2 separate regions of the Homo sapiens genome follow, and region 2 is linked to region 1. The links are contacts of gene promoters, found by promoter capture Hi-C in human tissues and cell types (Jung and others, 2019). All regions are on one chromosome and are shown on one strand. The core of a region is centred on a gene start or on the middle of the fragment in contact, and the rest is flanking DNA. Distances in the headings are between cores, read along the strand shown. Region 1 holds the start of ZNF84 (zinc finger protein 84). Region 2 has its middle 13 kb from the start of ZNF268.

Region 1 (4,266 bases), core at 1,011-3,510:
TGCCTTCAAAGCCTCAATTTCTGTACTTGCTAAAATGGTGAAGATAAAGTGGACCTCACAATGGGAGTCTAAGAAACAAATGAGGTGTTAAAAGGAAAGCGACTGGGGCCTTGTAATAACAGTTACAGCTAACATTCCAGTGCTTTCTGTATGTGAGACAATATACTAAGCATTTTAAATTTAACTCATGCACAACCCTATAAGGCGTTTAACATAATCTCCATTTTACAGAGAGAAAACTGGGACAATGAGTGATTGTAAAATGTGCCTGTGATTGCACATTTAGTAAGTAGCAAAATTCAAATGTTAATTCTCTATCCTGCTATGTTCAAAGCATGAATACTAAAGTCATATTGTCATTTGTGCATATCTACATGCACAAACACACACAACATAAATCCTGGAGTCAGCTCCTATTCCCATGCACACATTCAGTCACTAATTCCCACAAAAATATAAATGAAGGACGCCCTGCCTCAACTGTATCACACTAACAAGCAGCACTTTCTTTTTCATGCCTTTTTGTGGTTCAAACTTCAGTGCCAACTCAGAAACACACAGCAGTTTCTCCCAGTTATACAAGAAATGACTCCTTTATACCTTAAATTGTGATAATACATAAATCTTAGAACAAAAGCTGGCACACAGTCATACGAAACATATACTAGCTATAATTATTATTATAAAAGTAATATATGATGGCAAAATATAAAAAACATACACAAGCTAAATAAGAACTATTATCTATGATCTCACCACAGGTAACCATTCTTAGGATGATGGAAACTATTGTGATATTTTTCATACAATGGAAGCATATGGTCATATTTAAAAGCTGTTTTTGTTTTTTTCCCATTATGTGAAGAACATCTTTCCAGGTCAATAACCTTATTTCTGTAAGATATAAACAACTCACATAAAATAACAAAAAAATAAAATCCGACTCATAATTGACAAAATACATAAAATATGTAGGAATATCAAGACCCATATGAAGCATACTAAAAACACCAATGAGAACTATAAAAATAGAATTAAAGAAATTTATAATTCGATTTTATTCTGGGATAGGAAGACTTCAGATTGTGAAGATAATTTGACCTCAAATGATTTATATAACTCATCGACTCCAATCAGAATCTCAAAATTCTAAAGTTTATGTGTAAGAAAAAAGGTTCAAGAACAATTCGGACACTTTTTTTTTTTTTTTGACAGGGTCTTACTGTGTTGTCCAGGCTGAAGTGCAATGGCATAACCATAGCTCACTGCAGCCCTGAACTCCTGGGCTCAAGTGATCCTCCTACCTCAACCTACAGAGTAGCTGGGGCTACAGGCATGCCCTACCACACCGGGCCTGGATGCTTTTGGAAATACAAAATAATGAGTGTGAACAGGCCCACTGTAATACATACAAATTATAATCATTATAACATTTGACACTGGCTCCAGAGAAGTTATACAGATGAAAAAAAGCAAACTGTCTAAATATGCAAGAGTCAGCATGCAATAAATGTAGCATTTCAAAGCCATCAGTAAAATTAAATTATTTAATGAATACAAGAATATTTGAAAGAAAATAAACGTAGCTATTTCATACAACTACTTTCAGTGGGTTAAATTTTAAAATAATGGAAACCCTAAGAATGTCTACAAAAAAAAACCACAGGTGAATGAATATATGTATAATTTGAGGGGAGATTTCGCTACACCATACCAAAAGCAAAAGTCACTTAAAAAATTTAAAACAGTCAATAAATATAACCATTAAAAAATACACGGCCAGGAATGGTGGCTCACACCTGTAACCCCAGCGCTTTAAAAGCCTCCTTCGATAGCGGCAGAGCCAGGCTGCTGGTGGATGCGGTCCAGCAGGGCAGCCGCTCCTTAGGGCCACGGCGCGGCAAGCGGGCTGGCCCGAGGTCGAGGCTAAACGCGCCCGAGGCTAAACGCGCCCGAGGCTGGCGCCTCCACGCCCGCCTGAAAGGACGCCCAGGAGCGGCGCCTCCGGAAAGGCCGTGCCCGCCCCACAGCCCAGAATCCGCGCAGCTCCGCGGCCCACGGCATCTTCACGACCCGGCCCAGCCCCAACCCGCCCCAGACCCGCATCCGCGCGCGGACGCCCAGGGCCTTGAAGCCGAAGCTCCCCGCGGCCACTCCCGCGCGCCTCCCCCGCCATTCCCGGAGCCCCCAGCGCCGGGCCCGCAATAAACTCACTGAACTCACAAAAGACGCCGCCGCCGAGTCGCGCCCGCGCGCCCGCGGCCTCGCGATCACGTGACACCGCCCGTCCCCCGTGTCCCGCGCACGCGCCCAAACCGTCGGCCTTTGTGCGCTCCCGGGCGGCTCCGAACGGGCCGGGACGAGTCGGGGACTGCACACGCGCACACTCGCACGCGCGCACACGCGTACACTCCCCTCTCACGTGGCAGCGAAGGACAAAGAGGAAGAACGGGCCACCTGCAAGCATTACCAAGAGTGCATGTGCGCATGCGCGAAGGAAGGAGCCCCGCGAACTCAACTTCCCACAGTGCCCCGCGTCCGGAAGTGCCTGTCGCTTGGAGACGGAGTGACTCCAAACGGGCTCACACGGTTTTCTGAGAAACATAAAGGGAAACCGAATCCACCAATATATATATATATTTTCTTGAGACGGCGTCTCGCTCTGTCACCCAGGCTGGAGTGCAGTGGCGTGATCTCGGCTCACTGCAAACTCCGCCTCCCGGGTTGACGCCATTCTTCTGCCTCAGCCTCCCGAGTAGCTGGGACTACAGGCGCCCGCCGCCACGCCCGGCTAATTTTTTTGTATTTTAGTAGAGACGGGGAGTCACCGTGTTGCCCAGGCTGGTCGCGAACTCCTGAGCTCAGGCAATCCGCCCGCCTTGGCCTCCCAAAGTGCTAGGATTACAGGCGTGAGCCACCGCGCCCGGCCCACCAATACTCAATTGGTTTGACTTCAGTTGAGGAAACCAGAAAAAATTTAAATATATTTATGGAAAGAAGGTAAGAATTAACAGAAAAAAGTAAAGTTGATCCATAACTGGAGTCGTAGGGAGAATTATAGGTAAGTCACGATGCTTATGACAGCAAGATGGGGCCGGGGAGATGGAGGAGAGAGATGAAAAAAGAGAAATAACCATAGACACATAGGAAATTGAATGAAAATCCGCTCTATACTAATAAATTTGATAATTTGTGACACAAATGATTCTCCAGGACAACATGGGCCAAATTTGACCCAATTTTATCCACAATTTGAAGACAAATTCAGAGATCCTTTGCCAGAAAGCATCATAATGAGTTGCTTAGTGAATTGCTTCAAACATCCAGTGATTAGAGAATTCTTATATTTATTCCCAGAGGTAGAACTCACCAGTGAAGTACTAGCATAAAAACAGACGCATGGACCAATGTGGAACAGCGTAGAAAAACCAGAAATAACCCCATGCATATACAGTCAACTAATCTTAGGCAAGTCAACTAATCTTGTGTCAAGAATACACGATGGGGAAAGGACAGTCGCTTCAATAAATAGCGTGAGGAAACCGGATATCCAAATACTGCTACGCAAAAGACCTCATTGCCCGATGTGCACAGAAGCCAATACTATGGCACCAGGCGTTTGAGAAAAGAAAAGCTTAATTGCGAGTTGACCAACAAAGTGACAGGAGTTTAGTTCAAATCTATCTCTCTGTGCTGCCCTTAAGGCAGCACTATTGTGAAAAAAGGTTTAGAGGGTGGATTCTGGGATTCACAGGTGAATGGTGAAGGAAAAAGGAAGTCTGGAAAGTCCCCGACCATGTGCAGTTGTCTCTTCAAGCCTCTTCTTGGGTCCCATGTGCAAATTAAGGTAGAGTTAGTGTGAAAAGTGCAGTGGAAATTCAGGCTGCGACATCAGCAAGCTCATTCTGCATGGACTCCGTTTGGTTATATTGGTTTCAACTGATTTCAGCCAGTTGTATTATATTACAAACGGAGTTTCAGCAAACTGTTTCTTATCTGCCATCCTGTAAGCTCAAGAATTTCTGTTAGCCGGACGCGGTGGCTCACGCCTATAATCCTAGCACTTTGGGAGGCCGAGGCGGGCAGATCACCTGAGGTCAGGAGTTCGAGACCAGCCTGGCCAACATGGTGAAACCCTGTCTCTACTAAAAATACAAAAATTAGCTGGGCGTGGTGGTGCACACCTGTAATCCCAGCTCCTCGGGAGGCTGAGGCAGGAGAATCGCTTGAACCTGGGAGGTGGAGATTGCAGCGAGCCGACATCGC
Region 2 (4,016 bases), core at 1,285-3,784, 130 kb before region 1:
AGGTAACCTCAAACTCCTGGGCTCAAGTGATCCTCTCACCTCAGCCTCCCAAGTAACTAAGACTACAGGTATGCACCACCATGCCTGACTTTTTTTTTTTTTTTTGGAGAGATACAGTCTCACCACGTTGCCAAGGATGGTCTCAAACTCCTGGCCTCAAGTGATCCTCCAGCCTCAGGCTCCCAAAGTGCTCTTTAGCAAAGCTCATTACCCAAGATAAGGGAAAAGATATTCAGGTATGGTGACATGCCTGTAGTCCCAGCTACTTGGGTGGCTGAGGTGGCGGAGGATTGCTTGAGCCCAGGAGTTCGAGGTTTCAGCGAGCTATGATTACACCATTGCACTCCAGCATGAGTGACAGAGTGAGACTTCCATCTCTTAAAAAAAAACAAACAGAAATGTTCACACAAAGACATGTACATAAATGTTACCAGAAGCATTATTCATAATAGCCAAAAAGTGGGAACAACCCAAATATCCAACAACTAATGTTTGAAAAACAAAATGAGACATATCTATACAATGTAACACTATTAAGCAAAAAAGGACTTAAGTACTGGTACATGCCTGAGCAAATAAACCTCAAAACATTATACTGAATGGAAGAAGCAAGTCTTATAAGACCACATATTGCATGATACTATTTACATGAAATGTTCTCAGAAGGCAAATCTGTAGAAACAGTAGCTTATTGGTTGCCTAGTCTGATTACTAATGGATATGAAGTTTTGGGGAGGGGGTATATGAAAATGTTCTAAAAATTAATTTTTTTTTGGAGACAGAATCTCACTCTGTCACCTAGGCTGGAGTGCAGTGGTGCTATCTCAGCTCACAGCAACCTCCAGCTCCCAGGTTCAAGCGATTCTCCTGCCTCAGCCTCCTGAGTAGCTGGGATTATAGGTGTGCCACCATGCCCGACTGTGTGTGTGTGTGTGTGTGTGTGTGTGTGTGTGTGTATTTTTAGTAGAGACAGGGTTTCACCATGTTGGCCAGGCTGGTCTCGAACTCCTGACCCCAGGTGATCCACCCATCTCGGTTTCCCAAATTTCTGGGATTACAGGCGTGAGCCACCACGGCAGGCCCTAAAATTAAATCATAGAGATGGTTGCACAATTCTGTGAAAATAATTTTTTTCTTTTTTCCTCTGTTTTTTTTTTTGAGACGGAGTCTCGCTCTGTTGCCCGGGTTAGAGTGCAGTGGCAAGATCTCGGCTCACTGCTAGCTCCACCTCCCGAGTTCATGCCCTTCTCCTGCCTCAGCCTCCTGAGTAGCTGGGATTACAGGCGCCCGCCACCATGCCCAGCTAATTTTTTGTTATTTTTTTTTTAGTAGAGACGGGGTTTCACCGTGTTAGCCAGGATGATCTCGATATCCTGACCTCGTGATCCGCCTGCCTCAGCCTCCCAAAGTGCTGGGATTACAGGTGTGAGCCACTGCGCCTGGCCTGTAAAAATAGTTTTAAAATGAAATTATATACATTAAATGGTTACATTTTATGATATGTAATTTGTACCTTATGTTTTCACATATCATAGTGCAATGAGGGTTGGGGGAATCTCTGCTAAAGTCAATCATTCAGAGACCCATGTTTACAGAGTCTGTTGCTTTCAGTATATGATTCTGATAGATTTCTTATGTTGAAATCCAGCTTGCAAATGGTGGATGGGAGAGACAGTGGAAGTTATACAGGGTGTTTTAAGCAACTTTCACAAGATTTTTTTAAAAAATATAAAATCAGCTGGGCACGGTGGCTCATGTCTGTAATACTAGAACTTTGAGAGGCCAAGGTGGGGGGATTGCTTGAATCCAGGAGTTTGAGGCCAGCCTTGACAACATAGTGTAACCCCGTCTCTACAAAAAAATACCAAAAAAAAAATTAGCCAGGCATGGCGGTGTGCCACCCATAGTCCCAGCTACTCAGGAGGCTGAGGTAAGAGGATCACCTGAGCCTGGGAGGTCAACACTGCAGTGAACCGTGATCACGACACTGCACTCCAGCCTGGGTGACAAAGTGAGACCCTGTTTCAAAAAAAAAAAAAAAAGATAAAGTCATGACTCTCATACAAACACAAAATAAACATGTGCCGAATATTTTAATTACCTTCTTATTTAATGAGTGTACCAGTAAGCTGTTGTAAATAGTCCAAAGAAGAATTCAAGGAACCACAGATAAATAGGTAAGAAATACGAGGGTGAATTTACAAAAAGATGCAAAACTAAAGAATTGCATTCAACTAGACATAATATATTTGCATTTCTATGGAGAATAATATATTACAAGTTTTCGATAAAGTACAGGGTTGTAAAACATCTCAAAGACAATGAAAAGCAGATATAATATGGAAGAGTGCTTTAAATAATGCCTAGATTTACACTGAAAATACAAAGTAATATTTTATTCATGTCTAATTCTTTTTCAAGTTTCCCTGACAGTCTTTCCCACTTTGTGTAATAATCTAAAGAACGTTCATTCTTCATCACATGGGACATGACTGAAAGCAGTATATCCCATTTTAGCCCATATTCCATGGCCAGAACTTGGTCACTTGACTCCATGTAACTCAAGGTGTGTTTGGAAAGAGTTGCTAATGAGGAAAAAGCAAACAGTTTTGATGAGCACTGGCAGATCCTCTACTACAGAAAGTTGTCACAGTAATCAGGGTGGAATATGCTTATGTCTCAAGCTATTTATTTGAGATATTTAGATTTTCCTGTTGAGTTTGCCATTTATTATTATAAAATTTTCCTATCTCTCATGATATTTCTTGCCATAGTCTGATGTTAATATAGCCATGCAAGCTTTTTTTTTTTTTTGGTTACTGTATGCATGGTATATATTTTTTCCTCTCCTTACATTTCACCTCTATTTACCCTTATATTTAGAAGGTCTTTCTTACATCTGTTCTTTTAAAAATAAATTAAAGAGACAGGGTCTCACTCTATCACGCAGGATGGAGTTCAGTGGCACGACCATAGCTCACTGTAACCTCAAATTCCTGGGCTCAAGTGATCCTCCTATCTCAGCCTCCTAAGTAGCTAGGAATACAGGTGTGCACCTGTATAATATATATTATATAATGTATGCTACATTATATAATATATATAACATATATACCTGGCTAATTTTTTAATTTTTTTGTAGAAATGGTGTCTCCCTATGTTGCCCAGGCTGGTCTTGAACTCCTGGCTTCAAGCGATCCTCCCACCTTAGCCTCCCAAAGCACTAGGATTATAGGCATGAGCCACCACAACCAGTTCTCTTTAAAAATGTTTTTCATAAATCACATTAGCATAAAAATTTCTTGTCATCTATCACTATCAATAAATATATACTAAAGGCCTGAAAACACCCCCAAACACACACACACAGACAAAATAATTGTGAGGGGAAATTAGCCTATGCTTGAAATGCAAAATTCAATATGATGTAAAATTGGCTAATTCTAACATTTTAAAATTACTCTCTTTAAATTTTTAAAATTTCTTTTTATCTCATTGTGGATATATATACATAATAAAAACTTCCATTTTAACTATCGCTAAGCATACAATTCAATGACATTAATTAGATTCACAATGTTGTGTAACCATCACCACTATTTCCAAAACTTTTCCATCACGCCAAACAGAAACTCTGGTACTCATTTAGCAATAACTCCCCATTCCCCCTATTTGCCTGGAAACCTCTGATCTACTTTCTGTCTCCATGAATTTGCCTATTTGACCTGGGTCATATAAGTGGAATCATACAATATTTGTCCCTTTGTGTCTGGTTTATCTCATTTGGCATAATGTTTTTCAGGATCACCTATGTTGTTGCATGTACCAGAGCTTTGGTTCTGTTTTATGACTGATAATCCTGTTGTATACTCCATTTTGTTTATCCATTTATCTGTTGATGGACATTTGGGTTGATCCACCTTTGGGCTATTATGAATAATTCTGCAAGGAATATTGGCATAAAAGTATCTGTTTGACTCCCTATTTTCAATGCGTTGGGGTATATACACAGTGGC

What was found. Contacts are between HindIII fragments. The study calls those that stand out against the background at their distance.
Region 2: a fragment that was not itself captured here is called in contact with the fragment with the promoter of ZNF84 in region 1 in 8 of the 25 tissues and cell types used here (IMR-90 fibroblasts, bladder, dorsolateral prefrontal cortex and 5 more).

Annotation. Positions count from the first base shown.
Region 1 is chr12:133,035,503-133,039,768 of GRCh38, reverse strand. It overlaps ZNF84 (zinc finger protein 84), which reads right to left and starts at 2,260. Exons shown (of 5, transcript NM_001289971.2): 1 at 2,224-2,260. It overlaps ZNF84-DT (ZNF84 divergent transcript), which reads left to right and starts at 2,547. Exons shown (of 3, transcript NR_110091.1): 1 at 2,547-3,000. RefSeq lists a silencer at 2,154-2,333 and an enhancer at 2,554-2,643. The HindIII fragment of the contact is 8,441 bases long and covers 1-4,266 here.
Region 2 is chr12:133,166,284-133,170,299 of GRCh38, reverse strand. No RefSeq gene overlaps it. Among named protein-coding and RNA genes, the nearest start is that of ZNF268, 13 kb to the left of the region's middle. The HindIII fragment of the contact is 6,555 bases long and covers 1-4,016 here.